7 separate regions of the Homo sapiens genome follow, and regions 2, 3, 4, 5, 6 and 7 are each linked to region 1. Evidence: promoter capture Hi-C in 16 types of primary human blood cells and fetal thymus (Javierre and others, 2016). All regions are on one chromosome and are shown on one strand. Each heading gives the region's core, a stretch centred on a gene start or on the middle of the fragment in contact. The rest is flanking DNA. Distances are from core to core; before and after follow the strand shown.

The links. The method cuts DNA at HindIII sites, captures the fragments that hold promoters and counts their contacts. A CHiCAGO score of 5 or more calls a contact.
Region 2: the fragment with the promoter of FBXL13 here is called in contact with the fragment with the promoter of IMMP2L in region 1 in 2 of 17 cell types (naive CD8 T cells and total CD8 T cells); the score reaches 7.7 in naive CD8 T cells.
Region 3: a contact is called between the fragment with the promoter of ING3 here and the fragment with the promoter of IMMP2L in region 1, in 1 of 17 cell types (activated CD4 T cells). The highest score is 8.7, in activated CD4 T cells.
Region 4: the fragment with the promoter of NAPEPLD here is called in contact with the fragment with the promoter of IMMP2L in region 1 in 3 of 17 cell types (non-activated CD4 T cells, activated CD4 T cells and M0 macrophages); the score reaches 6.2 in non-activated CD4 T cells.
Region 5: the fragment with the promoter of ORC5 here is called in contact with the fragment with the promoter of IMMP2L in region 1 in 1 of 17 cell types (naive B cells); the score reaches 5.8 in naive B cells.
Region 6: the fragment with the promoter of PUS7 here is called in contact with the fragment with the promoter of IMMP2L in region 1 in 1 of 17 cell types (monocytes); the score reaches 6.8 in monocytes.
Region 7: a contact is called between a fragment that was not itself captured here and the fragment with the promoter of IMMP2L in region 1, in 1 of 17 cell types (monocytes). The highest score is 8.2, in monocytes.

The regions. Positions count from the first base shown.
Region 1 is chr7:111,560,716-111,564,419 of GRCh38, reverse strand. IMMP2L (inner mitochondrial membrane peptidase subunit 2) reads left to right here and starts at 1,928. Exons shown (of 6, transcript NM_032549.4): 1 at 1,928-2,569. RefSeq lists a silencer at 1,767-2,396. The HindIII fragment of the contact is 1,654 bases long and covers 1,434-3,087 here.
Region 2 is chr7:103,073,004-103,076,844 of GRCh38, reverse strand. It overlaps FBXL13 (F-box and leucine rich repeat protein 13), which reads left to right and starts at 2,049. Exons shown (of 21, transcript NM_001394494.2): 1 at 2,049-2,149. The coding sequence starts at 2,075. ARMC10 (armadillo repeat containing 10) reads right to left here and starts at 1,705. Exons shown (of 7, transcript NM_031905.5): 1 at 1,434-1,705; 2 at 964-1,068. The coding sequence starts at 1,572. RefSeq lists an enhancer at 959-1,008 and a silencer at 1,279-2,118. The HindIII fragment of the contact is 4,996 bases long and covers 1,164-3,841 here.
Region 3 is chr7:120,949,316-120,953,194 of GRCh38, reverse strand. It overlaps ING3 (inhibitor of growth family member 3), which reads right to left and starts at 2,418. Exons shown (of 12, transcript NM_019071.3): 1 at 2,271-2,418; 2 at 1,960-2,031. The coding sequence starts at 2,298. RefSeq lists an enhancer at 1,796-1,875. The HindIII fragment of the contact is 9,487 bases long and covers 1-3,879 here.
Region 4 is chr7:103,147,271-103,151,291 of GRCh38, reverse strand. NAPEPLD (N-acyl phosphatidylethanolamine phospholipase D) reads left to right here and starts at 2,193. Exons shown (of 5, transcript NM_001122838.3): 1 at 2,193-2,481. It overlaps LOC105375434, which reads right to left. Exons shown (of 3, transcript XM_047421168.1): 2 at 728-2,274. The coding sequence ends at 1,472. The HindIII fragment of the contact is 3,849 bases long and covers 1,047-4,021 here.
Region 5 is chr7:104,206,429-104,210,449 of GRCh38, reverse strand. ORC5 (origin recognition complex subunit 5) reads left to right here and starts at 2,437. Exons shown (of 14, transcript NM_002553.4): 1 at 2,437-2,617. The coding sequence starts at 2,546. RefSeq lists enhancers at 2,259-2,418, 2,469-2,548, 2,589-2,778. The HindIII fragment of the contact is 7,936 bases long and covers 1,921-4,021 here.
Region 6 is chr7:105,520,517-105,524,750 of GRCh38, reverse strand. PUS7 (pseudouridine synthase 7) reads left to right here and starts at 2,480. Exons shown (of 16, transcript NM_019042.5): 1 at 2,480-2,699. RefSeq lists enhancers at 1,215-1,715, 2,999-3,653, 3,968-4,234 and silencers at 2,352-3,101, 3,311-3,456. The HindIII fragment of the contact is 10,027 bases long and covers 1-4,234 here.
Region 7 is chr7:105,686,208-105,690,237 of GRCh38, reverse strand. All of the region lies in intron 3 of ATXN7L1 (ataxin 7 like 1), which reads left to right. Among named protein-coding and RNA genes, the nearest start is that of EFCAB10, 110 kb to the right of the region's middle. RefSeq lists enhancers at 1-312, 313-988, 989-1,664. The HindIII fragment of the contact is 2,609 bases long and covers 645-3,253 here.

The DNA of each region.
Region 1 (3,704 bases), core at 679-3,178:
AGTTCCTAGTGACCAGGAGCTCCATTCAATTTGGGGTCATGGTACCAAATAGTTCTTGACTGCTATTTGATGAGGGTGGTCCTGTCACCTAAGTGCTCTTGAAATTAAGTCCTTAAGCACTGGCCGAAAAGAGCTTACTTTGCAGTAATTATTTCAGTGACAAGTAAGAAAAACTGGGACATATCCCCTTCACAGGAGAGCAATTTTGCTCTCTTTAGGAAACTCTTGGAATTTTAGTTATCAGGCTATTTAAGACCCTGAGTAGATTCTTAAACCTTTAGAATAAATTTTGAACCAAGAGTGCCAGAATGTCTGTTATTTACATTAGTATTAAGTGATCTGAAAGTGCACAGAGTAGTTTGGCAGTATCTAGAGGGAGAATAGAGACAGAAATAATGAAGATACAACTGGAGGAGTAAGAAAAGGAGAAAAAAAGTATTTTATGTCTGTTCAGTATTTCTAGGTGCCACTGCTGCTAAATGCCTGGGCTTCAGCCTAGGTTGGGTTGCTCCTAGCAAAGAAAACCAGTCCCTGAGACAACGAGTATTGCCAGGGAAGACAGGCTTTAATGCAGGTGATGCTGGCAGGGAGACCAGTCTCAAACATGTCTTAGGGAGACTAAAGTTAGGGCTTTCTATAGCAGGGAATTATGGAGGGGTAAGGAAGAGGAGTTTGTGAACAGGCAGCAGATGCACCTCATTGTCCAGATGTAGTGTTCTGGAAAGTTGCATTTCCTTGACACTATCTGGGAGGTCTGACAGTTTATCTGCTGAGAAAGGAACTCAGGTAAAATGCACGCAAGTTTCTCAAGTTTCACTTCGAAGGGAAAATTTGGCCGGTTTCGGTCTTCCCTTTCTATTTATCAATTCCTCAATCATGCGGAATCTGGTAGTTGATCTTTCTGGCTGCTTCACGTGAAGGAAGGGCATCTTGGGATGATATGGAATGAAAATATCGCACCTGTAATTGCAAGTACTTACGAGTACCTGGTTGGCATCCAGCTTGTTGGAGCACCATGATTTGGGTACTTTCATCAACATTTTAAACCACATTGAATTAGGATAATTAATAACATGGATAAGAAGGTTTCTTTGTAGGTTGTAATAACCCAGTTAAGAGTTTGTACCATTCGGCCGGGCGCAGTGGCTCACGCCTGTAATCCTAGCACTTTGGGAGGCCTAGGTGAGCGGATCACGAGGTCAGGAGATGGAGACCATCTTTGCTAACACGGTGAAATCCCATCTCTACTAAAAATACAAGAAGATTAGCCGGGCATGGTGGCGGGGGCCTGTAGTCCCGGCTACTAGGGAGGCTGAGGCAGGAGAATGGCGTGAACCCGGGAGGCGGAGATTGCAGTGTCGCTCTGGCGACAGAGCGAGACTCCGTCTCAGGAAAAAAAAAAAAAGAGTTTGTACCATTTGAGGGCAAAAGCTTCAGTATGAAATTCCCGTTTCTCTCAAGTAAACCGCCTGTCCTGTGTTACTCACTTTGTTTTACCTGGAGGCAGCAAAACTGAATAGTTTTCCTGAGTGCTCATGAGTAGGAAAAAATGAAATGAAGAGTTGCCCAGAGATCGCTAGTGAGGTGCTTTGCCACTACTGCCCTGTACTTAAGTAACTGTGAGGGTTCTCTGTTTCCTGGCTTCTAAAACAAGAGGAAGAGCTGAAGACACAGTTTCATAGACTTTTCGGCTCTTTATTGTAGTCTCCCCCATTAGTACGTTGCTGAGCTTAGGGCAAGTGCTCAATAATAGCTTGCTGAATTAGTGTTGTGTTTGATCCTTTCAGATCCACGCCGCATTTTGAGCCCGACCTGGGCGGGCGGTCCAGAGACCAGTTTTCCGCCGGGGGCGGAGCTTCGGGCGGCCAGCGCGCGACGGGGCAGCGGGGCGGAGCTTGCCGCCGGCGGAGGGCGGGGTCTGCGCGGGGACTTCCCCCGGGCTGAGCTGCGCAGCGGGTGCGGAGGGCGGGCGCCCGGCGTCCGGCGGCGGGTGGGGGGCTGTGAGGCTGGCAGGGGTCGGCGGGCGCGTAGCCGCCGACCCTTGGTGGTCTCTTGGGCTGGGGACCCTTCCCTGGGAGTCGGCCCCGGCCCCGGCGGGGCGGGCGTTGCCGGGAGGCGGAGGGGTGCGCGGCCGCGAGTCCTGCGTGATCGCGAGCATGTGTGCGTGCGCGTGTTTATCTGAGGCGCGTGCGGCGGCCACCCCAGCCTAGTCCTCTTCTTGGTGCCACTGGCTAACTAGGTTGAGAAACCGGCGCCACAGGCGGCACACCTGGCCCGGAGCTGGCCCGCTCCTCCCCGCCGAGCCGGCGCCCCAACAACGCGCCCTCTCCCAGTCCTCACAAAGGGGCCTAGTCCGGCCCCCGGCTCTGGCCGTGAGGGAGCGCTGTGGGGGCGCGCTGCCTTCTGCCTGGAAGTGTTGGGCAGGTGGTGGGAGAGCGTCAGGCTTGAACAACATGATTTTAAAGCACGTGTCTGTCTGTCGTTTTTTACTTTTAGGGTTTTGGCCAAATTGGGCGAGGGCACAAAATAACCACTTACCCCTTCTCACCGAGGAAGAGCGGGAGAAAGGGTAAGTAAGGAATGGTCAGGGGTGGAAGGACCTAGGACTTTATCCTGAGAGCGAGCGAGAGAGAGAAGGGCTAGATGTCCAGAACTGCTCGTGGGGAACTTGGGCCCAGATTCTACCTTTTCATCGGGAACTGGAGGACCCACCTTCAAAGTCACAGGCTCCAGGCCCCGGACTGTTTTCAGCCTCACACAGTCTATAGAGTTTAACAGCTTGGGCATGTGGATCCCTTTTAGCCCCTTGACCCGACAGAAAACTGCACTTCCCCTTTACCTGTTTTTACCTTGGAACATTGGTCCTCTCTAGTTGTCTGTCTCCGGCCCCTATCTTATTAGCCAGCTTTGACTAATCCCTGAGACCATAGCACTAAAGAATCCAGGTCCTGTTTGATAATGAACAGTAACCCCCCTAGGGATGTTTACATTTTAAAAGGGTACTCCTGAAAAAATCCTTTAGGACCCCAAAGCATAAAGTTAGTAACAAGATTACAAGTGTTGAAGTTCTTTGGGATCTCTCAAGCTTACAGAAGAAGATGTTTTGAGGGGAGAGAGATGACCAGGCTGGGCCTTTTTCTCTGGGCTTTCACTCTTGGTACCTCCTGGCAAGCATTCCATTCACTTTTGAAAAGTTGCCAAAAAGGACACTGAAGTTCTCTGAGGCTTACTGTGATTTTCAGTGTGGTCTATTTCATTGGTTCTTCTGTGGGACTTTTCTATCACTTCTTTAATACACTGCTTCCCTCTCCCCTGTATGGTGAAATGAAACACAGCTCCTCTCACAAGGTTGGGAGCTCATTATGCATCCTATATGTCACATATAAATAACCGTTTTAAATTAGTTGAAATTCAGATTAGCTACAAGCAGGAATGTAGTAAAACTGCATTCTTGGATTCTTACACAGGAAAAGTAGAATTGCCCTCTGTGATAGGCTGCCTATTCTGATACTGGCTGCCTGTGTCCTGAACGTGCCTATTTGTTTGTGCTCAAGTGATAGGTGACCACATAATTTATGGAAAACAGGAAGTGATTGTTTATTGATAATGGGTTCCTTCATTGATTCAATAGCTAATTCTCTCTTACCATGTGCTACGCACTTTTATCAGCACTTTGATAAAAGTAGGATGGTGAGAATGATGAG
Region 2 (3,841 bases), core at 800-3,299, 8.5 Mb after region 1:
TTTGTTTTTTGAGACAGAATCTTGCTCTGTCGCACAAGCTGGAGTGCAATGGTGCAATCTTGGCACACTGCAACCTCTGCCTCCTGGGTTCAAGTGATTCTCCTGCCTCAGCCTCCTGAGTAGCTGGGATTACAGGCACCCACCGCCAAGCCCGGCTAATTTTTGTATTTTTAGTAGAGATGGGGCTTCCCCATGTTGGTCAAGCTGGTCTTGAACTCCTGACCACATGATCCGCCTGCCTTGGCCTCCCAGAGTGCTGGGATTACAGGTGTGAGCCACCACACCCAGCCTGTAAATCTTTTTAAAAGTGAAATAAGCATTTGGCCAGTTTTACAGCCCAAGAAAGACTTTCTTAAAAGCTTTGGAGCCTACTGTTCGAAAGCGTACTCTTTGAAACCTACTCTTCCAGGAAGATAGATCCCCAATCTCCCCAACTCTGTGAGTTTTTAGCCTGGGCACCTGGTTCCACATCATAAAGATATTTTTATTTTTCCTCTGGATAAAGGCAATTAGATAACAACCACCCCAATTACCAGTAAATTCAGGATAAACTACATGTAGCAAATGGTACTGTCAAGTCCTCTTACCTAAGGACAAATTATTTTTTATCTTGAGAACACGTATGTAATATGAAATCGGTTCTATCTGTCCAGCTACATTTAAAGGAATTAGAATTCTTCCTGCTATCCCATTAGCAAATTGCCCGTGATGTGTGAGGCAATTTAGTTTGTGCTTATTCAACAATGAAGCTGTTTAGCTCTCTTCTACAATTGTGGACAGGAGTTTCTTGGATGGCAGATATGATATTTTAAATTATTTCCCTAACAGCTTCCATGATGTGAAACATGCCTTTGGAGGGTTTTAATGTACCGATCAACTTTTGGACAGAAACCGAATCATGCATTTGTCCGCTGGGAGGGTGTGTCTCGCGCAGACAACTGTTCCCATTTCCAAAACACACACCAGGCTGCGAGGTCTTGGACCACTGTGACTCCCAGGTACCTCCCGTCTGAGGCCGGGCCGAGCGCCCGCACAACTGACCCTCTGACGTCCCTTCTTCCAGGGCACCTGCAAGCAGAGATTGACCTATGGCTCTGGGCCCCTCAACAGCCCTTCCACAATCGGGAGAATCCCTTTAGTTACACAAAGGCCCGGAGCAAGCTTTAAAATGAGAGGCCATCAACAGGTTTTTAAGAAATCTAATCCTCCGCTGTGACGCGGAGCTCAGGCAGGAAAGCCAGGGCAAGTTTTCATACCAGTATAGTCAGCAAAGGGGCGGCGGGGGCGGCGCAGCACCCTGCACTCACACAAGTACTGCCTCTCCCTCTAGCTCGGCTCCTCATTTTACCCCGAGCACACGCAAGCCACCACCCCGGCCTGGGGAGCCCCCCTGCCCAGTCCCCGCCCACCTGCCGGAAACCCCGGGGTCCCACCTGCGGACTTCGAAGAGCGTATCCCGAGCTCGCGGTCGCCCCGCCGCCGACCCCGGGTCAGCCTGTAAATGCAGTAGCAGGCGCCCGCGCCGAGCAGCAGGCCCGCCGCCACCCAGCCCGCGCCCCGGGGGCCACCCATGCTGCCGCCGCGGCAGAGCCGCAGCGCCGGGCCAGGGCAGGAGGCTCGCGGGGGCCAGCGCGGAGGTCTCCAGCGCACGCGGGCCTAGCCGCCACAGCAAACGCCACCTGACCTGGATGTGGAGAAAGGAAATGGGGTCTGAGCTCCGCCTCCCGGAAACGGCCTAGCTCAAAGCCTATAACCGCCCACTCCAGCCCGGCGCGTCCCGGCGGCTTCTCCCAGGCGAGGCGGGGCGGTGCGGGGCGCTGCACACCGGGAGGGGGGGGTCGGACGGTGCGCCCCACGCGGAGACGCCGGGGCCCGCAACCCAGAGCCGAGCTTCCCGTCTCTTCCCCCGGGGCGTGAAGCAACCATTCCTCCCTCCCGCCCCTGGCAGCGGAGCGCGGGGCGGTGCCACGCCCAGCCCCGCCCCCTGGTTGCCGGGACAACGCCCGCACGCGCCCGGCCCCTAGTCCCAGCGCGGGGAGGGTACTATCGCAGCTTCTCCGTCAGGCCTTGGGCCATGGCCTCGCTACGCAATGCCAACCCGAGGCTGAAGAACTACTTCAAGGAGAACTACATTCCTCAGGTCTGCGAGGTACTGGACACGCGTGGCAGCGGACACAGACCGTCGGTGGGGAGTTAGAAGGGGGAGGAGTCAGGAAAGACTTCCCGGAGGAGGGACTAGGTTTCGGGATTGGGGAGGAGTGGAGGGAAGGCGGGGCAGAATGCGAGAAAGTGAAGTCAAATTCGGACTTGTAGGCGATCAGGGCTGAAGACGCTGATTAGAGAGAAAACAGAGGGTGATGGTGGCTGCACGTGGGGAATGGGTGACATCTCCCAGGGGGAATGAGCACAAGGCCCAGATCGGAAACCCCAAACTCAGATTTTAAGGTTTGGACAAGAAGTACCTGAGGAGTGGAGGAGTGAGAAAGAAGTGCCAGAGAGCCTGAGGAGGAAAATCAGCAGACTGGCATTATGAAGAATGTTGTCAGAAGTAGGGAGTAGGCACTAGTCACCTAAGATAAGGAGCTGGATTCTGCCCAAGGTGAGCCTGAGGTTTCCATGGAGCCGTGAGGGCAGAAAATAGATGGAGGTTAGCGGAGGGAAGAGTGGAAGCTGAGACCTTTGGTCAGTGTAGTCAGCCCTTTGTGAAGGTAAGGACCCTCTCAACCAGGATTGCCTTTAGACAACAGGAAGGACTGCCCTCCTACTGCCGTTATAAGAGTAGGGAAGGAAGACAGGAAGGGGATAGACATTAGGTTTTGTAGGTTTGGGGGTAGGAAGCTGAGAACATTTGCCTTTGTTGACCTCTTTTTTTCTCTACAAATAGTTGGTGAGATATTTACCAAGAATGTGCGTGTTTGAGTGGGGATGGGGATGTTGGTGCAGTAGGAGGTTCGAGCAAAGATACGTTATGTGGAGAATGAGGGAGAGAGATGTCTAGGGAAAGAAAGAGGAGGTCCTACCTGAGGGTAGTAACGCTCCTAGGCGGTTGGGAGGGCAATTTGGTAGAGACCCCCCACCCGTCTCTTTTTTGGATGGTAATTGAGAAATATTTATTAAGATGTTAAATACATGTACCCTTTAACCAAGCATTTCTACTTCTAGGGATCTACTTTAGAGAAATACTTGCACATGTGTTCAGGAGGATGTACAAGGATATTCATTATAACTTTGTTTCATAGTAAAAATAGTAAATGACCTAGAGTGACTAAGCGAATGAGGCATTATGTAGAATAAAGTATATCTGTACCTACTAAGAAGAAATGTCCTCCAAGACATATTATTATTATCATCATTATTATTGAGACACGGGGTGTTGGTCTGCCACCCAGGCTAGGGTGTAGTGGCTCCATCCTAGCTCACTGCAGCCTCAAACTCCTGGGCTCAATTGATCCTCCCACCTCATCCTCCCAAGTAGCTAGGACTACAGGCATACACCACATGGCTGGCTCCCAACACATATTATTAAGTAAAAAAGAAAAAGTGCAAGTTGCTTAGCAACTGTCCATTCTGCTCTAGCTGTCCATTTGATTTCATATATGTTGTATATGTGTTTATGTACATATATGTGTATATATCTAGCTTTAAGACAATAGTGCATGCATAGAACCTATGCCAAACTGTTAATAACAGATGTCTTGTGGAATGGTTTTGGGGGAAAAGATGGAGAATTCTAACTTTTTACTCTGTCCATAGCTGTATTGTTTTAATTTATTACAGTGAGTTTTGTGTTGTACCTCTATACAATTGTGCTTGAAAATATGTAGGGAGAATGGTACCCATC
Region 3 (3,879 bases), core at 1,169-3,668, 9.4 Mb before region 1:
GCCAGTAACTTAAATATGTTATGCTTTGATTGTGTAAATATATAATGCCTCAATTATCTTCCTTTAAAAAGTTACAATTTTCCTTATTGACAGATTATTTTTGTTTTTGTTACTTCAAAATTTTTTCCAACAGCCAAAGTAGATAGGCTCTATACTATAATTTTTGAGCAATAAAGCCTTTAGGTCAAAAGCTAATGGTATTAAATCAGACAAATGTACCGAAACACAATTAAAACACCATTAGATAATCCTCACATTTCTTTTAACAAGAAAAAGTGATAAAAATATTTGGTATATGGCATTAAACATCTCATCATGTCATATCCCAACTGAAAGTAGTAGGTACAATCATTTAAACATTAATTCTAGGTAAGTTTTCCCCAAATTATATGCCAAGACTAATCATCTCATTGGATGTCTGCTAAAAAAAAAAAGGAAAAATTAATAAAAAAGATTCTGTTGTTATGTAAGTTGAGAAAAATCTTTTCATAATATACTTCTTTTGGAGATTTCCAGTCCACAATAGCCTTTTAAAGACTCTATGAAGTCCTATGGTTAATTTTTTAGAAGTATGTTCCTTTGTTTAAATAAGCATTTCTGAATTTATTTGGCACACAGTTCTGTTAATCCATAATACCTATTAACTTTAGAAAATTCTAGTTACTGTAAAGAAATGCACGTTTAAAAAGCCTGTAATATGTATAATGTAAGCCCAAATTACAAGAGAATTTAAAATTTTAAACAATAAAATATAAAAATAATTTAAAGTAAGTTACCCTTTATTTAATGCCTACTTTGTATCAGATACTAGAAATTCTAATCCATGTGTAACATTTTAAATCCTTGGATGATTCTCTTTTTATAGACAATGTAAGCCCCTCACAAGTGATAATACAGTCAGAGTCAATGAGTAAATTAGTAAAGCCCTAAAACAAACTCAGATCTGACATCAATGTCTGTGCTCAGTCCTGCAGAGAACACTACTTCAGCAAATCTTCAGCATTTCAACTACACTAAAATTAAAATGAATTTGTGAGATAGCTGGAGAACCACACACACAATTCATACTTCATATCACAATCCACTGAACAGAAAGTGGCTTCCATGCCACCACTTTTTATTATGTGCCACCTGAAACTTACCGGAAAAATATACTCATAAGCAAAGGGTATAGAAGTGGGTGTGTGGTCATGGGCAGAGAAGCCAGGAGCAGTGAAAAGGACAGGTTCTTAGCTGCAGCAGGTGGTCCCTGAGCCACCTATTTATAGTCGTTGCTCTATGAAAGAGCAAAGTTAATTTGGGGAAAAAGTCCTAGAGACTACCAAGCTATCACTGAAAGAAAAAGAAATGTTCATTAACTGCTAAAATTTTTAGTACAGCACATAAGAAACTTTACAGTGAAATCTAATTTCTGTCACTCATTTTAACCAAGAAAATGACGATTCTGTTACAATTTAAAATGTATCTAATGTGTAACTAAGTTTTCAAAATTTGACATTTGCCATGGTCTCTAAAGAGCTATATATAACCTCTGCTTCTGTGCTTTCCACTCTTGAAAAACTGTGAATAGGATGAACTTTAAAATAAGTATAAATGCTGAAATCTAAGTTCGATACGAAAAGGCTCAAGACGACATCTCAACATTTATTATGCTGACGTCCATTGAAACATAGATAACTATGTCAATGACGGTAGAGAAATATTTTTTGCACAATCCCACATTCTAGAAAGGAATACACGTGTCCCAATGCCTCCTGCTCTTGCAAAAGCCAGAAAAAAGTAGCATGGGAGGGAAGGGGAAGGCGAGATTCAGGGCTGCCAGTTCTTTTTGACAACTCCTTATGCACTAGCGGAGTGAGCCAGAGGACAGTGAAAGAGCACTAGGCGCTAGCAGTGATGACAAGCAAGTCTGGCACTGAACGCGCGCAGCGAACAGGAGTAGTAGACGCGCCGACTTACTCTGCACCTGCAGGTCCATCTCGCGCATTTCCGTGAAGCGGTCCCGCAGATCCATAGGAAGCTGCTCAATCACTGTCAAAGGGAGAGTCCGTCAGAGGGGCGGGGCCAACGGCGAAATACGCGCTTACGTCACTGCGCGCGTGCGTCAGGGGGGTCGAGGGGGCCGGCAGCCCACAACGAGGCTGCCAGTTACCGTGAGAAAGAAACATCCCCCGCCGCCCCCTCCCTCCCGCCATCTCGCTGCCCGTCCACTCGCGCTCTTGCCCGCCCGCACGTCCCACTGGCGGCCGCCGCCAGCGCCGCGCACTCACTTTCCAGATAGTCTTCTAGGTACAACATCGCGGCCCTTAGAGCTGAGGGAACAAGGGGGTCCAGGGGTTTATTTGTGTCACTCGCTGTCGCCGGAGTTTTGTCCCCTCCAATATGGCGCCTCCGCTAGCAGCACCCGCTCGACTCCGGCAAAAAAAAAAAAAGAAAAAAAAAAAAACCACTTTGGCGCCTGAGGCGCTTGCCTCACTGCCGCCCGGAGCTGCTATTGGTTGGTTCAAGCAATGACGTAGCCCGGCCGGTGTTCGCCCCCGTGCCTCTGTGGGAAATGTAGTTTTCTTCCTCCTCAGCGAGGGTTGGCGCGCTGGCGGCTCCCCTCGCAGAAACTACGAATACCGGGCGCCATTGCAAACAGTGCGTAACAGAATCCGAAATGCGGTGCCTCTGTTTATTTGTTGATTTTTGCACAGAGAATGGCGGGAGTTGTATGCACCTGCATAACACAACTAGGAACAACTTTTCACCTGTTCTTTGATGTGATTCCATGCCCCGGCGTTTGTGAGTTATGGGTTTCAAGAAGTGCCAGGCAAATAGCAAAGGTTCTAAACACTAGAATAATCAGCAAAGTTCGGGGAATTTGGATTGCTTAAAATAGAACTCTCTACTGGAATTTATCCTCATTATTCACTCTAAAATATAAAAGAGACACCTGGTTGGCTTACGTGTAATTTTAAAATAGTTTATACTGAGACTATGGAGTGAATATACATTTCCCAGATTAAAAGATGCACAAATAGTGTCAGTAGCCACTTATATATTCTAGTTTGCGGTCCATCTAATCGTCATTCTAATGTAATTGATCTATACATACAATCTGCATCCGCAAATAATAATAATAATAATCTTCATCATCACAGTGAGCAGCCATGAATTACGGATGCAGCCTTGATTTCTAATAGGCTGTTAATAGCAGTAACTTTATGTTGAGTAAATAGTCCATATTCGAGGTTGGTTGTCTTCGGCGTTCTTTAGTTTCTACTTTTCGACCTCTCCCAGCAAATGTTTTCCTGTGATATATTTAGTACGTCCCTACTCAGTTTCTTTTTAAATTGTTTTTTATTAAAAACTCTTGCACTCAATAAATGCTAGATATTGTTATTTTCCACTCTTCTTAACTTTTCGATTTTCTGGGGAAATTGTCATTAGTTCATAATTTATTGTTCATTTTCTGTTTTTCAAATTGCAGTTGAAACTGTGTGTGTGTGTTTCTTGCTTTCCTTCTCCATTACATACTCTTGTACTCAAGGTTTTCACTGCTCTTAAGCAGGAAACTTTCCTGTCGTGAATGATGAATCATGATGAATCTCAACGGAACCTTACTTCGATCCTAATAAGAATTAGAATTTTATAGTTTCTAGTTAAGTTTTTCATTACTTCCATCGAAAATCAAGTACTTTCGATCTTTTTCTCCCTTCTTTTTTTCCTCCTTTCTTCGTTTCCCATCCTTCCTTCTTCTGGCTGCTTTTAACATCTCTTTGACATCTTTTTGCAGTTTTGTAGTGATCTAAGTCTGAATTCCTTCCTTATTCCCTTTTCTTTCCTTAAAATTTTAAAATTATGCTTAGGATTTGAGGGGATTCCTGAATTTCAGGA
Region 4 (4,021 bases), core at 944-3,443, 8.4 Mb after region 1:
CTGTCTGCTTCCCTCAGCCTTAACCAATAAAGGACAAGGACTTAAAAAAAAAGAGTGGGAGTGAGGGGAACAAAGGGCATCTTTTTTTTTTTTTTTTTTTTGAGACAGAGTCTTGCTCTGTCTACCAGGCTGGAGTGCAGTGGTGCCATCTTTGCTCACTGCAACCTCCATCTCTGGGGTTCAAGCAGTTCTACTGCCTCAGCCTCCCTAGTAGCTGGGATTACAGGTGAGCTCCACTATGCCTAGCTAGTTTTTGTATTTTTACTTGAGACAGGGTTTCGCCATGTTGGCCAGGCTGGTCTCGAACTCCTGACCTCAGGTGATCCTCCTGCCTTGGCCTCCCAAAGTGCTGGAATTACAGGCGTGAGCCACTGCGCCCAGCTTTTTTTTTTTTTTTGGGGAAATGGGGTCTTCTCTGTTGCCCAGGCTGGAGTGTAGTGGCGTGATCACAGCTCACTGCGGCCTTGATCTCCCAGGCTCAATCGATCCTCCCACCTCAGCCTCTGGAGTAGCTGGGACCACAAGGGCGGGCCATCAAGGCTGGCTACTTTTTTTTTTTTTTAATTATTATTTGTAGAGATGAAGTCTCGCTATGTTGCCCAAGTTGGTCTCCAACTCCTGGGCTCTAAGGATTCTCCTGCCTTGCCCTCCCAAAGTGCCGGGATTACTTCTCCGTTGCTTAGTCAAGAACACTATGAAGAACTTTTGAGTAGTAACTTCAACTTACCCTTTGGGTTTGTATGTATGCTGTTACTTTTTTTTTTTTCTTCTGTTGCACAAAGGTATTATTCACCTTATGCAGTTTCAGCTCCACCCAGGTGCAAGCAGCTCTTAATCACCCTTAAGTTCAGCAGCCACTCTAAGCTAGCCTGAGGAGATAAAGTCCACACTTGACATACAGTTCTTTACATTCCTCCAATGTCACACAGGCACATTCACTTTCAAAATGCAGAATAGTTTGGTCTGCATTTTTCTGCCAGTCTTATCTGCATTTAGAACCTGTGGTGGTGGTTTCTTTTTTGCCAAGATAACCCCAGGGACAAGCTTTTTTTTTTTTTTTTGACCCTGGCACACCCCAGGACTTTTATAATCTTTTTGCCCAACAACCCATTGTTGAATTTTACTTCGACATGCCTGTACTTTACTTCTTGAAACAACTAATTTCATTCTGCAGTTTAAAAAGCAAATCCAGTAAGAAACTCAGAATCACAATCGTATGCTCTTTCATAGTTATCCTAGCGTTAAAAAAGATGCAAATTTAGATGAGAACCGTGTGTACCAGGGGGCTGTGACATCATTTTAAAAGTAAACGATCACACAGTGAACAATGCCGTGCTCCCATTAATATTCAATACGTACTGTACAACATTTCAAATTAGAGTTTAGTTTCTTCGCTACCAGGATCCTAGCGCCATAGGCTGTAAGTATTCAAATGCTTCTCGACTGTGATTGAGTTGGCTATGACAGTCCGTCAATGGGTCTGCAGGATCCCATTTAGTTTTAGCAACTGTGGCTGGTGTCCAGGAATGCGTTCATGCGATCTGAAAGTAAGCCTCTGGCTTAGGACAGCGGGGGGAACCAATTTGATCTTAGGAGGGTCCCTGCAGAGTGTTTGAGTCGCGAGGCGGGCCGGGGCAGGCCGCGTGCTCCCAGGCGCTTCCTTTACCAAGATGGCTTCGGCGCCCCGGCCCACAGGGGCGGCCATCTTGGTAAGGGCTGGAGAGGCAGCCTGAAGGAGGCCACCGCTGGCCCTGCTGTCAGATTCGAAGGTCATAATAAGGGAGTGACCCGGCGACGACTCGCCCCAACGATGGCGAGGCGGCGAGAGCTGAAGCGCTGCCTGCAGCTGCTGGCGTCCTCGGCGGAGCCAGCGCGGCGGGCTCGGGTTAGGAAGAACCCGAGCGCCTGCCGCGGTCGCCCCTCCCGCTACGCGGCGGCGCTTTGCGCGGGGACTCTGTGGCCGGAAGCCGCGGAACTGAGGCGGCGCGCGCTCCCGGCCACCCCAAGCGCGAGGTGAGTCCGCACCCCCGCGCTCGCACCCCGCCGCTCTGGCCGCGCGCCCGCGGCCCGGGATCCCGAGTGTCCGGAGCTCCGTGGTTTCTGTTGGACCTCGCGGGAGGCGGTTTTCTCCCGCCTGCTGTGCTCTGTGACCTCTCTGCTGCCTCCTCCACGGTCTCTGGGCGGAGCAATCCACACTGCTGAGCCTGGGGTGGTTTGGAATTCTTCGGCGAAGTGGAGCGGGCTGAGAGTGGGTTTCCCGTCCCCGAGCCCTCCCTCATCTCGGAGATGCCGCACTTGTGAGCGACAGGGCTTCATTTGAATTTTCGCACCTCGCGAGTTGCGGAGCCTGCATCTCTGAAGCTGCCTCGGTGAAGAGCCACAGCATTATTTTTTTTCTCTTTGGGAGAGTAGCTGTCTGGGATTTGAGATCCTATCTTCCCTGCAAATTACCAGGTTGCATCTTCACTGATAGGAATACATGTGGGTTTATCTTCTTTTGGTTGTATGTAAATGAATGGGTCGACAACTTCCTCCGAGCAACTTATTGTTGCTTCATCTATAGTGTTTATCTTCTAAAAATCCATTCCAACAGGTTTCTCCCCTTTTATTTTGGAATAAGTGTACTTATTTAACTATGGAATGGAAATGAAGAGCAAAAAAAAAAATGGGGCTAGCTGGGGAGGGGTGGTGGAAGGCTGTGCTTTCTTGAGTTTTCTGTTCTGTGGTTGTTTGCTTCTTATAAATTGGGTATTATTGTGGGCTTTTCAGAACACGTATTCAGATAGGTTTTTGTTGTTGTTGTTTTGTTTGTTTGTTTTTTCCTTTTTTTTTTTTTTCAAGCTAGAGCTCGATATGGTAGATACTCTTCCATGGGTTCCGGGATCACATGCATTCATTATACGTCAGTTAAACCTGGAAAATATTAAGGGAGTGAGTAAAGTTTAACAGCCTTTTAAAAAGTCATTTAGTTCTTGTCTTTGCCTTTACTGTACGTTGTTATATATACATGTTATAATATGACTGACTCACCTGGTTGGCTTTGGCTTAGCATGAAATGTTTGCTACTTGATAATTCTGATTAATTTGTCCAGGAAGTCATTCCTGAGATGCAGTTCTTCAAATTGAGAAATAATTCCCATGTTTGTTAAAAAATGGAAATCTCTAACATTTCCATTTCTATTTTCAGTTACATTGGTTATGAATTAGCCGCAGACATGGACATCGTTTAGAAAGAAGTTATGTAATCTTTAAAAAGAAGATTACCTATATCCCACAATAGTGTGATTTTTGTTGCAAGAAAATACTGGGTCTGTTAAAGAAGAAATTTAGGGTAAAAGTACTTATTTAAAATAATAATTTAAGGAGAGATTGAGGGGTTAAATTTGTTTCAAGTCAACTGAAAATATAGTCAGGATTTTCAGAGATTTTGTTTTGTTAACATTCTGCAGGCTTTCCTGCTACAAGAATTATGGTAAGTCTCCAAGAGATAAAAATACTTAGTGTATTTCTCATACCCTTATTTTCACTCAGAATTCCAAATTATATTGTAGAAATTCTATGTTACAAAATTCTAATTTTAAAATTAGTCCAGTTATAACTATATGAAGAACATTTTAGCATAAGCATTCCATCACAGGGTTTTGGTTATACTTTAGTTGATACAGTCATTCTTGTGTTTGTTCGAAAGGGGTATTATGTTACTTTGAGTATTTGTGAGTTTGGTAAACTGAGAGGATTTTTATGAACATTTAGTCTGTGTTTGGAAAAGCAGTATTTGCCTTTAATTTTGTTGTTTCATTCTGCTTTTTCTTTGTGGTGATGGATAGCTGTGGATATAGTGAGTTTTTCCATTGCTTTCTACACTTTGTAAATAAGAATATAGCTATAGCTGGAGGACTGTTGATCTGGGCTTTTTAGGTTGAAATGCATACACATAAAAAGTGTTTTCATTGAAGTATTATTAGGGAAATGAACTGTATGTATAATTAATCGTTAAAGAGCACTTTTATTCTGGAGGCCA
Region 5 (4,021 bases), core at 1,188-3,687, 7.4 Mb after region 1:
GCTCAGGGGTCAGGGGTCAGGGACCTACTTGAGGAGGCAGTCTGCCCGTTCTCAGATCTCTAGCTGCATGCTGGGAGAACCACTGCTCTCTTCAAAGCTGTCAGACAGGGACATTTAAGTCTGCAGAGGTTACTGCTGTCTTTTTGTTTGTCTGTGCCCTGCCCCCAGAGGTGGAGCCTACAGAGGCAGGCAGGCCTCCTTGAGCTGTGGTGGGCTCCACCTAGTTTTAGCTTCCTGGCTGCTTTGTTTACCTAAGCAAACCTGGGCAATGGCGGGCGCCCCTCCCCCAGCCTCGCTGCCTCCTTGCAGTTTGATCTCAGACTGCTGTGCTAGCAATCAGCGAGACTCCGTGGGCGTAGGACCGTCGGAGCCAGGTGCAGGATATAATCTCCTGGTGTGCCATTTTTTAAGCCCGTCGGAAAAGCGCAGTATTAGGGTGTGAGTGACCCGATTTTCCAGATGCTGTCTGTCACCCCTTTCTTTGACTAGGAAAGGGAACTCCCTGATCCCTTGCATTTCCTGAGTGAGGCAATGCCTCGCCCTGCTTTGGCTCGTGCACGGTGCACTGCACCCACTATCCTGTGCCCACTGTCTGGCACTCCGTAGTGAGATGAACCCAGTACCGCAGATGGAAATGCAGAAATCACCCGTCTTCTGCATCACTCATGCTGGGAACTGTAGACCAGAGCTGTTCCTATTCGGCCATCTTGGCTGCCTATCGAGGCCATTATTATTCACTGTTTGGGAGACTGCAATAGTCGTTTCAACAAATGAAATTGATTCCACTTTCCACACTGTAGCCAGAAGGAATATTTCTAAGTCAAATCTCAACATTTGCTTCTCTGCCTACAATTCTTTATTGGTCCCCAGCCTGACCTCCTACTACTCTCCAGGTTTATATGTAAAAACTATTTGCTAGTTTCAGTTATGGGATTGCCCATTTGTCCCTTTTTGTCTGTACATTCTTTTGTTTACAATTTCCTTCTTGGTCTCACAGGTGAATCTTTTCTTCAGCCTCAGCTTCCAGGTTCTCTCCTCTGAGAAACCATCCTAAATCATCCAGATGGTAAGGCATGTTCTCTCAGATCAACAATTATCTTTATTATGTAACTGCCAGGCGTTAACTGTGTATGCTGGAAATTGAACTGTGAAGACAGTGTTTCCTGTCCTCATAAAGTATATAGAGAGGGAGACTAACATTTTAGACAGTTTAGTCAGTTTTATTGAATGCTATAAAGATGTCGTGTTATGATTATAATATATGTATACCTTATATGCACAGTATGTTACGGACGTATAACCATCTTAGGAGAGTATCAGAGGCCAGCTTCCCTTGGAGACATTGAAATTTAATGGGTGGTCCCATTATAACCTTTAGAATTCTCTATTAAAAAGTACCTGGGCAAATGCTTTTGAATTGTTGCTGTGAAAATACTATTTTGACTAGCTAATACGTTATATACCACAACTCTCAAAAGATCCTTTTGACCATCACAAATCTAAGACTGATCTACAATCTATGGGCAGATTGAAGTCCACAATTTAAATTTATGTATAACAGGTAGTATGTACAGGATCTTCTACTCCTAGCAATAACCTAGCCAGTATTATCCCTATTTTATAGATAAGGAAGTTGAGGCTCAACTATTCCAAAGTCCCCCTATTCAGCAGTTGAGTCAGTCAGTGGTCCCAACCCAGGGGTTTCAGGACGCCAAGCTCTCTTTCCACCATGCACTTGCCTACTTCTGTATCTTATTTCCAGAATCTTCTAGTGTTTAGTCGCTAGTAGGTGCCTCACAAATAAATACACGTGAAAGCCTAATGCTAAAAGTAGCATTATTTTTACTATCAACCTCACCAACACACACTACGACTTCATCCCATTAGGACTGAGAGGCTTTCCACATCTGGTTTAAAGCTTGCACAAAAAATAGTAATTCCAAGCTGTGCATTAAACCCCATTACACCCTGTTTTGTACTCAATGCCACTAATTTCCCACAACGTCGTCAGGGAAAAAAACGACAACAAAAACATCTTTTGACAATATTAGTCTTCTAAGTCCGCCTTCCACGTCCCTCTAAGGGCCCCAGCTCCGGGTCCGTCTTCTTAGGCACTCAAGGTTTCTAAACTTGGGGCTTCCAGCCGGTAAAACTAAAGGCACGGGGTTCAGGGGTCATTGGAGGCCCACGGGACCCCCTTAACCCCTTCCACCCCTTCCCTATTCGCCCATCTCCATGTCGTCTCCTTAGCCTTTGAGTGGAAAAAGCGTCAGCCCGAAATCCCCACCAAGCCCAAGAATGGGCAAAACCTCGGCGCGCACAGGACCAGCGAGAAGAGGATGGTTCCGGCCCTGAGACTAGAGCGGCGGCGACGCTCGGCGTACGCGCTGCCGTCACGCCGCAGCCCGGCAGCGCAGGCTCCTCCCACGACGCTGCGGGTCCGGTTTCCGGCGGGAGCGTGGGCCGCCAGACTCGGGAGAGGCTCCGTCTTGTGCAAGGGTCCTGTGGGCTGGCTGCACTGGCCTCTGCGGTGGTGCCTGCCAGAATGCCCCACTTGGAAAACGTGGTGCTTTGTCGCGAGTCTCAAGTGTCCATCTTGCAGTCCTTGTTTGGAGAGGTATTGTAGTTAAACTGTCTTCCAGATCCTGGAGGCAGACGTTTCGGTAGTCTTGCGACCTGTTCCAATATTTGTTTTTTCGTGTTTGGATTGAGGGCCAAAAGGCCGTTTTTACGTTAAATAGGGGTGTTGTGGTTCTGTACTGCAGCTTCACCCACAGTCTCTTCCGAATATTGAAGAGGAGACAGTCTGAGAGCGACCGGCCTGCACTATAGGACGTTGCCTAAGACGTATTTGAAACACGCCACACTTTTCAGAAGTTTGCCCACATTAGCTCCTAGAAGTTGCTTGTTATCTTACCCCAACCCAATGACATTTATGTAACAGATGTGTTTGCAGGGTGTTATTTATTCAAATGTAAGTTCACACGTTTCTGTGCGGTAGTTGGAGTGAGTCAAGTGTAGAGAGGTGGTTGCTTTCAAGGCCACTAAGGGCCAAAGCAGTGCTTCAGGTTTAAAAATTTACTGGCTTTTCCAGAATTGTAACAGTCCAGAAGAGGTCTAGGGTAAACTTTTCTCCTTAACTGATAGTTCACAGGATGCCCTAGAGAGGAGTTTGTCTTGTCTGGATGAACATAGATACGTAGGGAGTCCTTTCAATAGGCAGAGGGTAGCGTTCACCAATTCAAAATTTAACCTATTTTTGACTATTTTCTGGTGGTCTTTGATGTGCTTTTTGATTCAGACTCAATCAGAATTGGAATTAATCAAACTTGGATCTTACCTGCGAAGAGAGTGAATGAGAATTCAGGGTCATACTCATACCCCCATCTTCTGGTTTGCTTTTTTAAGTACAGTCATGCGTTGCTGCCACTTAGTGAGGGGGATACGTCCTGAGAAATGCATCGTTAGGCAATTTAATCCCTGTGAATATCAGAAAGTGTATTTACACAAACCTAGATGGTGTAGCCTGCTATACACCTAGGCTGTATGGTGTAGCCTGTTCCTCCTAGGCTATAAACCTCTACAGCGGTGCTACTATACTGAATACTGTAGGCAGTTGTAACACAGTGATAAGTCTGCATCTAAAAGTGTCTAAACATAGAAAAGGTACAGTGAAAATAGGGTATTATAATCTTATGAGATCACTGTTGTATATGTGGTCCATCTTTGAATGTACACGTGACTGTACTTTCATCCAACTAGAAATATTGCATGGCAATTTGAGGTGGCCTGTGAAGCATTAGTGGAAAAGTACTACCCTCTGTCTAAAGGGGTGCATTATTTAGGGAAGTTAGAGGTCAACAACTGCATCTTCAATTAATTTTCTATTTATACTGCTTTCAATTATAGTTATATTATTACTGGAGCATTTTCTTGATTATGTTCTCTGCATTTCATCTATGGAACGCAGATCACTCCAGCCAGAAATGTTCCTGCTGAAAGAGCAAATTGGCAAATAGGG
Region 6 (4,234 bases), core at 1,231-3,730, 6.0 Mb after region 1:
GCCTCAGCCTCCCGCGTAGCTGGGATTACAGGTGTGTGCCACCATGCCTGGCTAATTTTTTGTATTTTTGGTAGAGATGGGGTTTCACGGTGTTGGCCAGGCTGGTCTCGAACTCCTGACCTCAAGTGATCCACCTGCCTCAGCCTCACAAAATGCTGTGATTACAGGCCTGAGTCACCATGCCTGGCCCAGATTGGTTTCTTTCACTTAGTAATATGCGTTTAAGGCTGGGCATGGTGGCTTACGCCTGTAATCCCAGCACTTCGGGAGGCCGAGGTGGGCAGATCACCTTATCTATTTAGATCTCAGAATAAATAAATACATAAAATAAAAAATATTTATTTATGTTTCCTCCATGTCTTTTCATGGCTTGCTAAGATCATTTCTTTTTGGCACCAAATAATATTCCATTGTTTGGATACAGCACAGTTTATTCAGCTACTGAAGGACATCTTGGTCTTTTTTTTTTTGAGACGGAGTCTCACTCTGTCCCCCAGGTTGGGGTGCAGTGGCATGATCTTGGCTCACCACAACCTCTGCCTCCTGGGTTCAAGCAATTTTCTGCCTCCGCCTCCTGAGTAGCTGGGATTACAGGCGCCCACCATCACGCCTGGCTAATTTTTGTATTTTTAGTAGAGATGGGGGTTTCACCATCTTGGCCAGGCTGGTCTTGAACTCCTGACATCGTGATCTGCCCACCTCGGGCTCCCAAAGTGCTGGAATTACAGGCGTGAGCTACCATACCCGGCCCGTCCTTAAGTTTTGGCAATTATGAATAATGCAGCTATAAACATACTTGTGCAGGTTTTTGTGTGAACATAGTTTTCAACTCCTTTAGGTAAATATCAAGGAGTGTAATTGCTGAATTGTATGGTAATAATATATTTCTTTTTTTTTTTTTGAGACAGAGTTTCCATCTTGTTGCCCAAGCTAGAGTGCAATGGTGCGATCTCAGCTCACTGCAACCTCCGCCTCCTGAGTTCAAGCGATTCTCCTGCCTCAGCCTCCCAAGTAGCTGGGATTACAGGCGCGTGCCACCACGTCTGGGTAATTTTTTGTATTTTTAGTAGAGACGGGGTTTCACCATGTTGGCCAGGCTGGTCTCAAACTCCTGACCTCATGATCCGCCCACCTCGGCCTCCCAAAGTGCTGGGATTACAGGCGTGAGCCACTGCGCCCGGCCGGTAATAGTATATTTCATTGTGTAAAAAACAAAACAAAAAAACAAATTGGGCAGGGCATGGTGGCTCATGCCTATAATCCCAGTACTTTGGGAGGCCTAGGCAGGCAAATCACTTGAGGTCAGGAGTTCAAGGCCAACAGGCAAAAACCCCGTCAAAAAAATTAGTCTGGCATGATGTCAAGCACTCGTAGGCCCAGCTACTCGGGAGGCTGATGCAGGAGAATCGCTTGAACCCTGCAACAGAGTGAGACTCTCTCTCAAACAAAATAAAACAAAACGGAAAAACTATTAGAGGCTGGGAGCGGTGGCTCACGCCTGTAATCTCAACACAGAGGCGGAGGCGGGCGGATCACGAAGTCAAGAGTTCGAGACCAGCCTGGCCAACATAGTGAAACCCCGTACTCTACTAAAAATACAAAAAATAAGCCGGGCATGGTGGCGTGCGCCAGTAATCCCAGCTACTCGGGAGGCTGAGGCAGGAGAATCGCTTGAACCCGGGTGGCGGAGGTTGCGGTGAGCAGCGATCGCGCCATTGCACTCCAGCCTGGGCGACAGAGCAAGACTCCGTCTCAAAAAACAAACAAACAAACAAAAAGCAAAAAAACTATTAGAGCCTGGGCAACATAGTGAAATCTTGTCTCTACCCCCCACCCCCAAAAAAATTAGCCTGGGTGCGGTGGGATGCACCTGTAGTCCCAGCTACTTGGGATACTGAAGTGGGAGGATTGCTTGAGCCTGGGAGGTCGAGGCTGCAGTGAACTGTGTTCACGCCACCGCACTCCAGCCTGTGCGACAGAGCGAGACTCTGTCAAAACCAAACCAAACCAAAACAAAAAAAACCTATGATCCGGTTTCTTGAAGCAGATCCTATGGCAAGCCATCAAGCCAGAGCGGTAAGAAGTAGGAAGATGGTGCTTTTAGATCCACTACATTCCCAGGATCAAATGTAGAACAATATTTAGTCCCTAAAGTGATTCTCTTTCCATTATTGTCAACTGCGTGGTCGGTGCAACGTGAAAGGGCCACAACTATGTGAAGGAAACACTTAGAATATAACACCAAAGGAGGCAATCGCTGCCTTAGACTTCCTAAAGATCTAAAGAACTCTTAGATGCTTGGTGAAATCGCTCTCTGCCGCTGGTGCGACTCAGGCGCGGTCGCGAGGAAGGTCCAGGGTGAACGCGCGTAGGCTGGGAGTCCGCGTTGGGGCGCTCCCTGGCTTGCAGGCCGCTCCGAGTGGGTGGGCCGGGGGCGGGGCCGGCGGCAGGGAGCGGACTCCGCCCCCGGGGCGGGTCCAGTCGGGCCGCGGCGCGTCGCTGCGCCGCACGTGTGCGAGCCCGGCCGCCGGTGAGTCGGCTGGAGCGCATCTGGTCCTCCGCGCGGAAAGCGCTGCTTTTGCCTGGCCGCCCTAGCCGCTGGCTCATCCAAGTGGCCTTCGCCGCTCTCTTGCGTCCCAACCAGAGCGCTGGCCACCTCGCCGCCCAGCTCACGCCGCGCCCGCGCTCCCAGGCTCCGGGTAAGTGCGCGGCCTCCCCGCGGCCGCCGGGGCTCCTCGGCCTGGCCCTGGCCCCAGCCCCAGCCCCAGGGCCCCGCCCCAAGAGGCAGTGCGGACTGGGAAGGCGGACTGGGAAGGCGGCCCCGCAGTGGTCAGAGCCCGCGGCGCCTCCATTATGGATCGTGCCAGCGGGAGCACGGTTGGAACCCAGTGGGTCCTGCGCTTCGGCGGTGCAGGCGCCGCTCTCCGCTCCCCGCTCCCCGCTCCGCTCTGCCCGGCCAGTCGTCCGGAGGCGCCGCGCCCGAGCGCTCCCCTCCTCCCCGCGCGGCGCTGTCCCCCGGGGGCCCCCTTCCCACTCCTCCCTTTCTTTGCCCCGGACGCTCCCTAAACTCTTGTCCCTCCGTCAGAGGAACACTGGCCCTGAAGCCCTTCACGGTGCCACTGCTTCGCCGCGCCTGCCTTCTGTGGGTCCAGCCCACGTGTTCCACCCCTGTGTCCTGCGTCGCCGCTCACTGGGAGCCTACTAGGCGCCACGCGGGCTCTGGGGACTGCTTGCTTTGTATGCATTTCCCAGAGTAGGAGTGGACGGGCTGCAGACTCAGAGTGCTTTCTCCAGCCCTCAAGCTGGGTGAATGCTTAACGAGTGGATGGAGGTGCTGCTGTGCAAGCTGAAATTCGAGTCCTCCTCGTCAGCCCTGCGCAGAGGTGTTTAGAAGCACACCTTCGTTGCCTGCCGAGTAGGGTTGGCAAAGAGTTTAGTTTTTAAAATATTTGGTCCCGTCAGACTACTTTTTTTTTCCATTCCAAAAATAAAGGGTTACTAAGGTTCCCTCCCCCCCATCCCCAAGCCTCTAATCATCTATGAAATGACTATGCCCCATTGGCCTGGGGGAGCCTCGACTATTGAGGGATCTGTCGAAAATCAGACTGTACAACACTATTGAAAAGGGGTTGGTTAGGCAATTGTTAGGTTCAAACATTAGGAAAGTAGCCAACAGTACGTACTTAACAACTCCTTGTGAACATGTTTTTGGTTTTTTTATTTTTATTTTTTTAATTTTTTTGAGACAGAATTTTGCTCTTGTTGCCCAGGCTGGAGTGCAGTTGCGTGATCATCGCTCACTGCAGCCTTGAACTCCTGGGCTCAAGCAATCCTCTCACCTCAGCCTCCCAAGTAGCTGGGACTATAGGCATGTGCCACCACACAGGGTCTCGCTGTGTTGCCCAGCCTGGCCTCAAACTCCTGACCTTAAGCAATCCTCCTGCTTTGACCTCCCAAAGTGCTGGAATTACAGGCTTGAGCAACCACACTCGGCCTTGAACATATCTTTGTTTTTTGATTTATTTTTTTTAGACGGAGTCTCACTCCATCACCCAGGCTGGAGTGCAATGGCACGATCTTGGCTCACTGCAACCTCAGCCTCCTGGGTTCAAGCGATTCTCCTGCCTCAGCCTCCGGAGTAGCTGGGATTACATGTGCACGCCACCATGCCCAGCTAATTTTTGTATTTTTATTTATTTATTTATTTATTTATTTATTTATTTATTTATTTTGA
Region 7 (4,030 bases), core at 700-3,199, 5.9 Mb after region 1:
AGGTCGGGAGTTCGAGACCAGCCTGACCAACATGGAGAAACCCCGTCTCTACGAAAAATACAAAAATTAGCTGGGCATGGTGGCACATGCCTGTAATCCCAGCTACTCGGGAGGCTGAGGCAGGAGAATTGTTTGAACCCAGGAGGCGGAGGTTGCTGTGAGCCGAGAGCGCGCCATTGCACTCCAGCCTGGGCAACAAGAGCGAAACTCCGTCTCAAAAATAAAAAAAGAAGTGCCCTGTCTCCTTTAACCTTGCAGAGAATAATGATGAGGCTTCCTTGCTTTAGGCCTTTGACGTTTAGAGTCTGTCCTGTGCTTTCTCACACTGGCCCCACTGAGCTGGTGGGGGCCAAGTCCAGCCCTTTGGTCCTAGTAGGAAAAGCCTGGCTTTGGGGCCTGGCTCATACAGGGGAGCTGAGAAGCTAAAACTCGGGCTCGGACATGATCCATCGGACCTTCGCCTCCTCATGCCCCCATTTGCTCTGGGCTAACTGGCTATGACACGATGCTAAGGGACTCTTTGTTCTAATTTGATTCAAATCTGCCCCTGTGTGTGGGGCCTCTGTTCCACTTCCCCGTGCCTCCTCCGTATGTCTGGTTGGGACCGGGAGGACTTTCGGCCCACCTTCGTAAGGTGTCAAGCTTGAGGTGTGTGTTGGTTTGTATGCATCTCAGCTAGGAATGATTATGGGGGCTGCCCCCAGCTGTGTCAATCACCCCCACAGCCCAAGTGAATGGAAAGATGTGAAGAGAACCTATAGGCCTTTATGTTGGAGCTGGGAGGAGTGGCAGTAAATACTGAAAGGCTTTTGCATTTGAATGAGCTAAACCCTCCCACCCTGCCATCCTTGGGAAAGTAAAGGCCTTTCAGCTCTGTCTCCTAGAGCACGTTGCCCCTCCCAGGCCCTCCAGACATTGGCCTGCCAATATCTTAGAAACACCCTCCTTCCTCACTTTGATTCTTCCCTCCACCCCAGCCCCAGTGACATAGCTGCTGTTTAAACTTAATTGATCCGGGGCAGCTGGGCACCTTAGCAGCAGTGAGCATTTGTGAGCCCACTCCTTCTCTCTTGGCCCCAGGGGAGTGGTTCTGTCCACCCTACACTCCGGGAAGACCAAGGCACCCAGGCAGAACCTAGAGACCAGTGAATTCCCAGCCAAAGGCAGCACTGAGCCAGATGGTCTGTGTAATTTCGTCAAACCTTTGGGAGTCTGCTAACAGCGACCTCACTTTGCCATAGTCCATTCACCCCCAAGGTCTTGTCTTTTCTGGAACAACAGCCATGACATATACATTAATTAGAACCAGTAATCAGATTACTTTTTGGGTAAGAGGTGAAACAAGAAAGTAAGCTGATAAAAGGAGTTGATCACTCCCAGACTATGACCTGGAGTCATACATTTTCAGACCAGCTACTCACACCTGCTCCGTGTACTTGTAGACTACTTCAGCTTCAGGACTTCAGGGCAGGCAGACTGCCAGTTATCAGGGTTTAGGAGATTTGTCCCACCTTGACCTTGCTGTTACTGACCATGGGTTCTTGGGCTTTTGGTGCAATAGAAATGAGGCGAAAAGAGTCTTCCCAGACAAGGCTTCATTGGCGCTTACGCCAGGGCATAAGGTAGAGAGAGAGAGAATTCCCTGACTGACCCTCTGAAAACAGCCGATTGGGATTTTTTTTTTTTTTTAATTGACACAGGGTCTTGCTCTGTGTTGCCCAGGCTAGAGTGCAGTGGCACGATCACGGCTCACTGCAGCCTCTACCTCCTGGACCCAGGTGATCCTCCCACCTCACCCTCCCAAGTAGCTGGGGCTACAGGCATGTGCCACCATGCCCAGCTAAGTTATGTATTTTTAGTAGAGATGGGGTTTCCTCCATGTTGCCCAGGCTGGTCTCAAACTCCTGAGGTCAAGCCATCCACCCGCCTCAGCCTCCCAAAGTGCTGGGATTACAGGCATGAACCACCGTGTCCGTCCCCAGTTGGGATTTTTTTTATTAGGCGAAGTACAGGAATTGATATCAGGGTAGGGTATGCAGGCTGGGCTGGGCAACGCATGTGAGGGTTAGGGTATGCAAGTCAATGTATCTGGTTGTGATGATTATCTTGAGTCATGGGCCACCTGGTGGTCTAGCCGGCAACAACAAGGCTATAAATCAGTTGTTCAGCATTCCTTCCTGAGGTGGGACACTCCGCAACCTTGGTTCCATATTTTGGATCTCTTCAGTCCAGTTCCTGGAATTCTTTAAGTAAAAAGCATGGTTAAACATTATGAGAGCACCGAAGAACAATATAGAATGGCTCTTTTCTTTGTATGACTAAAGCCTTGGGGTGAGTGGGTATGGTGTCAGTGAGGTAGTGGTGTGGGTCTCATGGTCAGTGGGAATGCATGAAAGAATGCTCTTCTGCGGGTAGCTGAAGCCAGGCCACATTCCTGCTCTGTCACACTGCTCTGAAACACAGCCCAAGGAGGAGGATGCATCCGAGCTGCACCTAGGCCTCTGCCTCCATCCTATACTTTTTCTCCCTGATCTAGTGAACTTGCATGGTTTTTAGGTATTGGTCTTGGTATGATAGGGCTGTCATAACAAAATGAAACAGCCTGGGTGGGTTCAACAACCAAAGTTTATTTTCTCATGATTCTGGAAGCTGGAGGTCCAAGATTAAGGTGCCAGCAAGTTTGGTTTCTCCTGAGGCCCCTTCTTGGCTTGCAGATGGCTGCCCTCTTGCCGCCTCTTCATGTGATCCACCCTCTGGACTTGTGCCATTGTCGTCCCTTCCTTTTCTTAAGGACACCTATCCTATTGGATTAGGGCCCCATCCTAATGGCCTCATTTTAACTTAGTCACCTCTTCAAAGACTTTCTCTCCAAATGTGCTTATATTCTCGGGTACTAGGGATTAAGACATCAACATATGAAGTCTGAAGTGGAGAAATTTAACCCATAACACCAATCTGCCAAGCCTGGTCCTGCCTCAGCATCAGAACATTGCAGGAACCTCCATGGGGTACAGATTCATCTGTGAGTTTATTCCCCTCATGCATCAGTTTATAGAACCAGGCGCCATCTCTGTGTGGGTGCATAGTCAAAGGAAATGCAATGAGAGAAAGATAGGAATATGTTTAAAAGTCATCAGTGGCTATGAAAGTCTGAATTAGCTTTCATATGGCTTATGATGATTCTCAGGTGACTGTGGCAGCTCACCTGTCTCGAGAGAGACTCTTATTAGGGGTAGGTTGAGTAAGGGAAGCTTGTGGACCAGTAGGCTCCAGAAACTATGTCAGGAATTGTTACCTTCCCTTCTGGGCCCCTTCACTCCCACCTCCTTTCTGGGCCAACTCCCTGATCTGTTAATAGATTCATTGGCATAAACCTCTCAGTGTCTTGCCAACAATTACATATAGATACAGACGGTGTCTGACTTACAATGGTTCGACTTATGATTTTTTGGTTTCAAGATGGTACAGAAGTGACATGCATTCCATAGAAACTGTACTTTAAGTACCCATGTAACCATTCTGTTTTTCATTTTCAATATGATATGCAATACATTACATGAGATATTCAACACTTTATTATAAAATAGGCTTCGTGTTAGGGCATTCTGCCCGACTGTAGGTTATGTTCTGAGCACATTTAAGATAGGGTAGGCTAAGGCTATGAGGTTCAGTAGGTTATTATATTAAATGGGTGGGTTTTGTTTGTTTGTTTGTTTGTTTTGAGATGGACTTTCACTCTCATCACCCAGGCTGGAGTGCAATGGCACAATCTTGGCTCACTGCAACCTCCATCTCCTGGGTTCAAGGGATTCTCCTGCCTCAGCCTCCCAAGTAGCTAGGATTACAGGCGCCCACCACCACACTCTGCTGATTTTTGTATTTTTAGTAGAGATGGGGTTTCACCATGTTGGCCAGGCTGGTCTTGAACTCCTGACCTCAGGTGATCCACCCGCCTCAGCTTCCCAAAGTGCTGGGATTACAGGCATGAGCCACTGTGACTGGCCCTTAAATGCATTTTTGACTTACGATA